3 separate regions of the Homo sapiens genome follow, and all the other regions are linked to region 2. Evidence: promoter capture Hi-C in 16 types of primary human blood cells and fetal thymus (Javierre and others, 2016). All regions are on one chromosome and are shown on one strand. Each heading gives the region's core, a stretch centred on a gene start or on the middle of the fragment in contact. The rest is flanking DNA. Distances are from core to core; before and after follow the strand shown. Region 1 overlaps GEMIN2 (gem nuclear organelle associated protein 2). Region 2 holds the start of SEC23A (SEC23 homolog A, COPII component). Region 3 overlaps SEC23A (SEC23 homolog A, COPII component).

Evidence for each region. The method cuts DNA at HindIII sites, captures the fragments that hold promoters and counts their contacts. A CHiCAGO score of 5 or more calls a contact.
Region 1: a fragment that was not itself captured here is called in contact with the fragment with the promoter of SEC23A in region 2 in 10 of 17 cell types (total B cells, monocytes, erythroblasts and 7 more); the score reaches 9.0 in total B cells.
Region 3: a contact is called between a fragment that was not itself captured here and the fragment with the promoter of SEC23A in region 2, in 1 of 17 cell types (monocytes). The highest score is 5.4, in monocytes.

What each region holds. Positions count from the first base shown.
Region 1 is chr14:39,135,813-39,138,770 of GRCh38, forward strand. It overlaps GEMIN2 (gem nuclear organelle associated protein 2), which reads left to right. Exons shown (of 10, transcript NM_003616.3): 10 at 628-1,161. The coding sequence ends at 667. Among named protein-coding and RNA genes, the nearest start is that of GEMIN2, 23 kb to the left of the region's middle. The HindIII fragment of the contact is 5,553 bases long and covers 1-2,958 here.
Region 2 is chr14:39,101,773-39,104,663 of GRCh38, forward strand. It overlaps SEC23A (SEC23 homolog A, COPII component), which reads right to left and starts at 1,463. Exons shown (of 20, transcript NM_006364.4): 1 at 1,260-1,463. SEC23A-AS1 (SEC23A antisense RNA 1) reads left to right here and starts at 1,368. Exons shown (of 2, transcript NR_146545.1): 1 at 1,368-1,599; 2 at 1,773-2,040. RefSeq lists silencers at 1,069-1,148, 1,169-1,288, 1,449-1,678. The HindIII fragment of the contact is 19,881 bases long and covers 1-2,891 here.
Region 3 is chr14:39,038,728-39,041,584 of GRCh38, forward strand. SEC23A (SEC23 homolog A, COPII component) reads right to left here. Exons shown (of 20, transcript NM_006364.4): 18 at 2,005-2,160; 19 at 304-369. Among named protein-coding and RNA genes, the nearest start is that of SEC23A-AS1, 63 kb to the right of the region's middle. The HindIII fragment of the contact is 1,685 bases long and covers 766-2,450 here.

The sequences.
Region 1 (2,958 bases), core at 238-2,737, 34 kb after region 2:
TGGAGTATTTTAGCATCCATCTTTATCCTCATTATCCTCTTTTTTCCTTTCTCCTCTAGTTAACCATTGTATTACTAATTTTTGTTTCATCTTTTCATTCATTGTTTCTTTTTAAAAGTATAAGTAGGCCGCATGTGGTGGCTCAAGCCTGTAATTCCAGCACTTCGAGAGACTGAGGCTGGAGAATTGTTTGAGCCCAGGAGTTCAAGACCAGTCTGGGAAATGAGCCATGATCATGCCACTGCACTCCAGCCTGGGTGACAGAGTGAGACCTTGTCTCAAAAAGGAAAAGAAAAATATAAACAAACACGTATATTGGCAGTCCTACACATACTCACATAAGGTAGCATACAGAACAATCTGTTCTGTACTTCGTTTTTTTTCACTTAATAAATCCTGGAAATCATACTTTAGCAGTATAAATACGTTCCTCATACTTTAGCAGTATAAATATTTCCCTCATTTCTCTTTTTATGGCTTCATAATTTTCCACTATGTAGACATACTATAGCTTATTTAACCAGTTTCTTATTGATGGACGTTTGGGTTGCTTATGGTCTTTGGCTATTAAAAATAGTGCTACAGTTAATATCTTTATACATAAATTTTTTGTTTTTTTTTTACTAGGTATTTTGACCAACGTGATTTAGCTGATGAGCCATCTTGATGTAGCTGATCTCTCAGGGATAGAAGATATTTCTCATGAAGGCAGCCTAACTCTGAGGAAAACAATGCCAATTCAAGTACAGATTTCAACACATCTTCAACACTATGTGAAGGGTTCACATCTTAACCTGTGCAATTCAGATTGATACTCAGAATATGGGTTGATTTGAATATCTGAAATATCAATGGAAAATCCCACTCAGTTTTTGATGAACAGTTTGAACAGTTTTCTGTAATCAAGCAGCTTGCATAGAAATTGTATGATGAAATTTTACATAGGTTCTTGGTGCTGTTTTGTTCTTTTTTTGTTTTTTGTTGTTTTGTTATTTACTTATATACATATAAAATTTTATTGAAAATATGTTTTGGTTACTAAAATTTTGTTTGACTCCTAACAAAAGACAATGGATGGCCTTAGCATCAGAATTAAAATAATCTGGATTAAATGGCAATGTGTTCATAGTCAGCAATAAAATTAAACATTTTTCCCTTTAAGCTCAGCACTTTTTTTTTTTTTTTTTTTTTTTCTTTGAGATGGAGTCTCGCTCTGTCATCCAGGCTGGAGTGCAGTGGCAGGATCTCAGCTCACTGCAACCTCTGCCTCCCAGGTTCAAGTGATTCTCCTGCCCCAGGCTCCCGAGTAGCTGGATCTACAGGTGTCCGCCACCAAGCCTGGCTAATTTTTGTATTTTTAGTAGAAACAGGGTTTCACCATGCTGGCCAGGCTGCTCTTGAACTCCTGATCTCAGGTGATCCGCCCGCCTCAGCCTCCCAAAGTGCTGGGATTACAGGCATGAGCCACTGTGCCTGGCCTCAATATTTTTATTTTTAAATGCTTTATTGCACAAATAGAACTTTATCTAACAAATCACTTTCAAAAATAACAGGTCAACTGTTTTAATTTGTTTATGTCACTTATAACTTACCTATTTCTGTATCAGGTAGGAATGTTTTCTGCTTTAAGTAACACAAAAGATCCAAGTGGCAATGGTTCTTCAAATAGGGGTTTTTCTCAGATAACAAGAAGTCTAAAGGAGCTGGCCACTGGCATTGGTTTAGTGACTCAGTGATATCAGGGGCTCAGATTCCTTTAGCCTTTCTGTCATGGAAACAAGATGGCCATTGCAGTTCAAGCCAATGTGTCTGTATTCAAGACAAAAAGAAGGGGAAGCAGGGCCTTCCACATCTGATCCTTTTCTCATAAATGTAAAATCTTTTCTAGAAATTTAGATCAGACTTGTGTTCATCTGCTAGCCATAAATGTACAACATGATCACCCCTTGTTCCCAGGAAAGTGGGAAAATGAAGCTGTACGCCTTTCCAGTCTCACTAATGGAAGGTGGGAAAGGAAAATGGGGATTGGGAATTACCATGGATCAGACAACCAACAGTTTTGCCACCAGTTATAATTAGAGCAGAGGTCATTTTATATTTGAATCTTTTCTGTAATGTCTTCATAAAGCTCACTTTATTATTATTTTTGTTTGTTTTTGAGACGAGTCTCGCTTGGTTGCCCAGGCTGGAGTGCAGTGACGCAATCTCGGCTCACGCAACCTCCACCTCCCAGGTTCAAGTGATTCTCCCACCTCAGCCTCCTGAGCAGCTGGGACTACAGACATGCACCACCGCACCCAGCTAATTTTTTTGTGTTTTTAGTAGAGACCGGGTTTCACCATGTTGGTCAGGCTGGTTTCAAACTCCTGACTTCAAATGATCCGCCCACCTTTGCCTCCCAAAGTGTTGGGATTACAAGCATGAGCCACTGTGCCTGGCACATAAAGCTCACTATAAAACTGCAGTCCTAAGTACTTAAAAATTTCCTCATTGTTGGATATCTAGTTTTGTTTTCAGTGCTAACCTAATATAAAAAAATACTACACAGATATCTTCATGTATGCAATGTTTCTTTTCAAACTTTTTTCCTTTGATCAAAAGTTTCCTTTTCCCAAAAGTAGGCAAGCCATAAGAGTCTATCATTTAATACTGCATTTGAAAACTTGGCTAAACTGAGGTTTCTAAAATTGTTTTTGTTTCTCATATAATTCTGGTGTGAGAAGTTCAGGATGGTGCAGCAGCTTTACAATGTCTTAAATATTCTGGGCTCCATCCAGATTTCTCTTTCATCATTTGAGTATGCAGTTTTCATCTTTTTGTTTATGAAGTATGGTTTATCTCTTGCCTCACATCTACACTCCAGGGAGGGAAATGGCACCACCCCTTCTTGTCATTTATATCTGGGAGCAGAGCATTTTAAGAAACCTTCAACTCGATATCTCATTGGCCAGAATTATG
Region 2 (2,891 bases), core at 213-2,712:
TTGTCTCCTACTTTTCACTTCCAAAATCCTCAATGAATTGTCTTCTTATGATCTTGGACAATTAACCTCTCTGAATCCTGTTTTTCTCATCAGCAAAATAAGAGACTTGGACTAGAAAATCACAAGGTCCCATCTAACTCTAAAATTCTGTAAGTCAATTAAAAATAGCTGGACTCTGGCCGGGCGCAGTGGCTCATGCCTGTGATCCCAGCACTTTGGGAGGCCGAGGCGGGCGGATCACCTGAGGTCAGGAGTTCGAGACCAGCCTGGCCAACATGGTGAAACCCCGTCTCTACTAAAGATACAAAAATTAGCCGGGCATAGTAGCTCGCCCCTGTAATCCCAGCTACTCGGGAGGCTGAAGCAGGAGAATCGCTTGAACCAGGGAGGCGGAGGTTGCAGTGAGCCGAGATTGCGCCACTGCACTCCAGCCTGGGCGACAAAGCAAGACTCCGTCTCAGAAAAAAAAAAAATAGCTGGACTTCTGAAATGATGTTCATTCACTACCAGAGGAGAAAGAGAAGGAAAACTCAACATGCATTTATATTTAAATCTAAAACCTTTTTAAACCAAGTTAATTTGGCTAGTTATCCATGGCTTTGGACGGTAGAGGTTGAGGGAGTTCAAGTGAAAACGAGAATTCCACATCCCCACTTCAGTGATTGATGTAGATTTACTATGACCTTCCTCAGGCAGTACCTTTACCACCAAATCGGGAAACACTACCTACCGTAGAAAGAAAGCCCAGTGAGATAGGGCTGGTCCTGCTGGAAAACTGAACTCTTTGTAATCAAAACCCAAGGCATTATCTTTACCAAGCTCTTTTCCCCTTTAACCCCTTTAACTTCCAAGGCTGAATTACGGTGACGTAGTCAATTGGGTTCAAAGTCTAGGACACTCCATATCTGGCAAGGAATGAAACAGTAAGTCCAAGGGCCCAGAGGCGATGATGGACTTGGGTGGAGGTGGGTGGCCCAGGAGGTGGGGGTGGGTGCTGGGCGAGATGCTCGAACCACCGTTTTCCACATCTTTCCACCTAATCCAGGGGAGCTGGAGGAGGCCGGGCCCCCGGCCCCGGCAGAGCGAAGTGGGTGAGAGGGTGGCAAGCTCAGCACTCAACGCTCCCCGCGCCGGACCGGGCCTCAGCCTCCAGCACACCTCGCTGGCCCCGGGGCACCGAGAGGGCAGAGCCGGGACCACCCCAGGATCCCAGCCCCCAGCCCGCCGCCGCCAGCCCGCCCCCGCTCCCCGCTGCGCACCTGCGGTCCCCCAGGAGCGGAGACGAGGCGGCCCTTTCCTCACTGTCCCCCTGCAGGACCCGTCGCAGCCTCCGCTTTGCAAAATCTGTCCTCTCCGCCCAGCAGGAGCAGTCCGTGGCACCGCAATCAGGGGTGGCGCCACCCCGCCCCGGGCCTCAGCGAAGACCTCCGCCCGGCCAACATGGCTGGCGCCGCCTCTGCCACGTCAAGAGGAGGGGACGGGGCGTGAGGGCAGGAAGGGGGCAGGAAGGGGCGGGCGCAGAGTTACCAGGGCAGGCCACCGGACCCCTGAGCTTGCTTAATAACCGGAGGATTTGAGAAAGGCGCGCGGCGGGCGAAGGTACCGAGAGGGGAGGAGGGAGGAGAGGTAGCGGGGACCGAGCCAGAGGGGCGGAAGAACCCGGAAGACCCAGGCAGCCGGACGGCCGAGGGGCGTGGGACCGGGCAGAGCGGGACCGGGAGAGAGCGCCTTTCCCAGCTCCCTAAAGCCACAGCGTATCCCACTCCCTGCAGGTCGCAGAAAGAGTGGAGAACTGGTGCCACTCGGACACCTTAGCTCACCGAGAGAAATGGAGACGGCCTCCAGGACATCTTAGGACCCTGGTTGATTCCGAGAATCACAAATCACATCTCTGAAAAAAGTGAAAAGTTCATTCTTTCACTTAGTGCAACAAATGTTTACTGAAACTTACTATGTGCCAGACACAATTGAGATGCTGGTAATATGATGCAGGCAAAGTAGGCCCAGATCCCTGGCCCGAAAGAATTCACGTACTATTTATGTATTTTAGTCAGCCTGTCTTTTCCTCCTACATTGCCTCTGCCACTTCAACTCTGTCTCCCCCCACCCCCAAAACACACACACAGTACAATATTTGGCTGATTCATCTTGATATGTTCAATGTTTTTCTTTCCAAGAAAAAAGTTGAACAAAATGAGAAAGCAACAGATTGGTAAGACATTAGAGCTTGGTGGTCTCAGACAACCCCTTCCTTCAGTGAGGGGAATGAAATTAAGTGCCCATGGAATTAATTGCATATATGACAACGCCTAAAAGCCTGCAAAGTTTAGCCATATCAACATTTTATGGAATGGAAAAAAAGATCAAGTCCCTGTCCTTGAAAGCTCATATTCATGAGAAATAAGACAGCAGCACCAGGCTGGGCGCGGTGGCTCACGCCTGTAATCCCAACACTTTGGGAGGCGGAGGCAGGCGGATCACAAGGTAAGGAGTTCGAGACCAGCCTGGCCAACATAGTGAAACACCGTCTCTACTAAAAATACAAAAATTAGCCGGGTGTGGTGGCACGCTCCTGTAGTCCCAGCTACTCGGGAGGATGAGGCAGAAGAATTGCTTGAACCCGGGAGGCGGAGGTTGCAGTGAGCCGAGACCACGCCATTGCACTCCAGCCTGGGTGACAGAGTGAGACTGTCTCAAAAAAAAAAGCACCAAACATATTTCCCTTTCTATAATGTGTGTACTAAAGTTGTTTTGGAAGGTGGAAGAGGATGTTTGCTTGTCAAATTGTAATACAATCCTGAAGAGGGCAATGGGAATCGAAAGCCAAAAATTAGTGTAGGCTTCCAAATAAAGTAGGTTCAAGGTGCTACCTTAATGAAGATTCTTAACAG
Region 3 (2,857 bases), core at 358-2,857, 63 kb before region 2:
TGGCTTATCGTGGCCTTTTGTGGTTCACAACCTAGCATTAAACTGGAGTCACCACTTCCTGTCTTACACACTTCATTGCTTTTTGTCTCAAGGGTATAGTGCTAAACTTGGAGTCTATTTGATAGGATCACTTTTGTCCTATGGTGTCGCCAAATATTAATTCTGTTTTCTACTCTCATTTTTACATTACTTTTCCAACAGAAACCATTACTAAATACACAGGAAAAAAATGTAGCTTTCACTAAAATAATAAACAATAAATACACAAAGAAATAATTTCCAAGACCTGCTATTTAAACTTACCTGCCCCCAGGCATACATATTATTATGAGTCTGTGAAGGGTTGACTTTTGAAAGGAGGAAACGGGCCTTAAAAGCAAAGAAGAAATAACATTATCCATCAAAAATGGTTTCAGTCAATATCAGCTGAATAATTATATCATGCAAAATCAATTTTATTTAGTATGTGTTGGTAAAATTAATTTTATTAACTTAATTTTTAAAAGATTAAACTTTGAAATGTATAGGTCACTAAGTGTTACAAATAAATAATAAATGCACCTCTTCTCTCCAAATCATACATCCAAAATAACAAATACATTGTTGAGTCCAAAACTCAGCATATAAAAATTATGTGTGCAACAATTATGACAAGGTTGGTGTGAAATTACTAAACACTTGGTCAGAAGTTCAAAATCCCAAATAATGATAAAAACAAAAGCCATGAAAATCTGTATGTTCTTTTGCTTAAAATAATGACCCTTAAGCTTTCTTAAACCACAGGTGATTCTATGAGACAAGTGATCCAACATTTTATCCTTCTACCCACTATGGCTTATCATCATGAAAATAATAACCAGAATAAAAGAGGAAAATGGTAATACACACAGTGAGACATCAATGAAAGAACCAGTAAGATTTTTAACTCATAATGGAAGCACATAGACAGTAACATCTTTTGAAATTTAGTATCATACAAAATCTTTTTCTACTCTCTAAGGAATCAGTTTAACCTAACAGTGAAGAGCACTGGCCCTGGAGTACCAGGACTCAAATCCCACTCCTGTATTTACTGTGTTCCCTTGGCCATAAGTAACCTAGATCTCAGTTTTATTATCTGTTAAATGAAAATAACACTAGAATTCTTATGAGGATCAAATGAGATAAGGCATGCAGAAGTACTTTGCAAATTCTCAATATGAAATAACTCTCATATAAATACAGTAAAACTAATAGTAATTATCATTTCTGAATAACAGTTACTGATATTTGCTACCTATTTTATAATACCGTACTAGGCACTAGGGAATACAAAGCATAGTCCCTGCCTTCAAAGAGCATGTAAAACAAATTAATAACAACTTATAATTAATTTATTATAACTCTTATAAGAATTACAAAAGAGAAGTAAGAAGTATTTTATGAGAGTATGTTAAGGAACCTAACTTAGCCTTCTGAAGGTCTCAAAGCAACTGTGTATGTATGTATATGTATCTAACGTATATGTATCCTCAAAATCCTAAAAGCCACAAAACCTTTTCATAATACTACAGTGTTTTCCTATTACATAAAATTTTATTTTCTAGAAAATTGGAATGATAGAATGAAGACAATGAAAAAATGTAAGTTACCACAAATGTCATATTCATAGACTTTAACAGTAAATAAACGGCTTTAAGAAAAGTATATTACTTTCCAAGCTGTTCACATTTTCTTGTTCAACCAAAGCTAGTATACCACCACAATGCCATCCTGGCCCTGTTCAGGAAGCTAGGCTAGAGACAGAAGATGATGGAAAGTGCCAGGTTTAGGCAACTAGTCAATAATCTTACTGTTTTGCTCTCAAAAGCTAATGCAAAAAGTAAGCACTGATACCTTCCCCACCTATCTCCTTACCTTTCTGTCTGCTTTATGAAGCAATCTATTAAAATCAGAAGGCAAGCAGGTACACCTCACTGCAAACCTAACAACAAACAAACACACAAACAAATTAACACTACTTACCTGGCTGCCTCCATGTTCAGTGTCAATGTATCTTGGCATTGGAAATCTGGAGTGAAGAATTTCCTGTGCATCATCCACTGGGGCTTGCAGAAGGTGGCGGAAATTTTCATACTCAGGCATATCCTGGTATCCTGACTTCCGCCACTGTGCTATGGTCTAATTTTAAAACAATTAAAGAAATTACTTTAAATTTCTTGCCCATCCAAAAATCTTGAGATTTTTCCAAAGAAAATAATCTTTAGAAACTAAAAAAATTATAGACCATTATTCCATTTACCTCAATTTTTTAAAAGTTACAATTTCAGTAGAGAAAATATTCTTAATAAATATAAAATTAGAATATTTCTTCTCCTTTAAAAGTAAAATGAAAGAATACTTACATAAGTCAGAAAATTTTTAAAACACTATGCTTATCAAATGAATGTTAGCTAAAAGCTATCTACCTAAGCTTATGATACGTGAAAGCAATTGAATCAATCCATAGGTAAGTAGCTCTAAACACCATGTAATTAAATCATCTAAAAACTTATGCCTGGTTTATTTTCTAAGTTAGCTGAATCAGTCAACACATTCTTTTATAGCTTTATACCTCTGTATAAAACAATCATGTGCATTTCTGATTTCTCCTTTAACAAGCTACTTGAAAAAGTAAAAATCACCATAAAACAAAGAAAAAGCAAAAAAAAAAAAAAAAAAAAAAAAAGCCCTGTCAGTATTACAGGTTTTTTTTTTTTTTTTAACAAAGGCAAGAAGTTAAAACAGGTATTATTCTTAACAAGTAAAGGGCATTAGAAACTGGTATCAATTAAAAATAATTTACAATAATAATAATTAAATCTTTTAAAACTCCTGG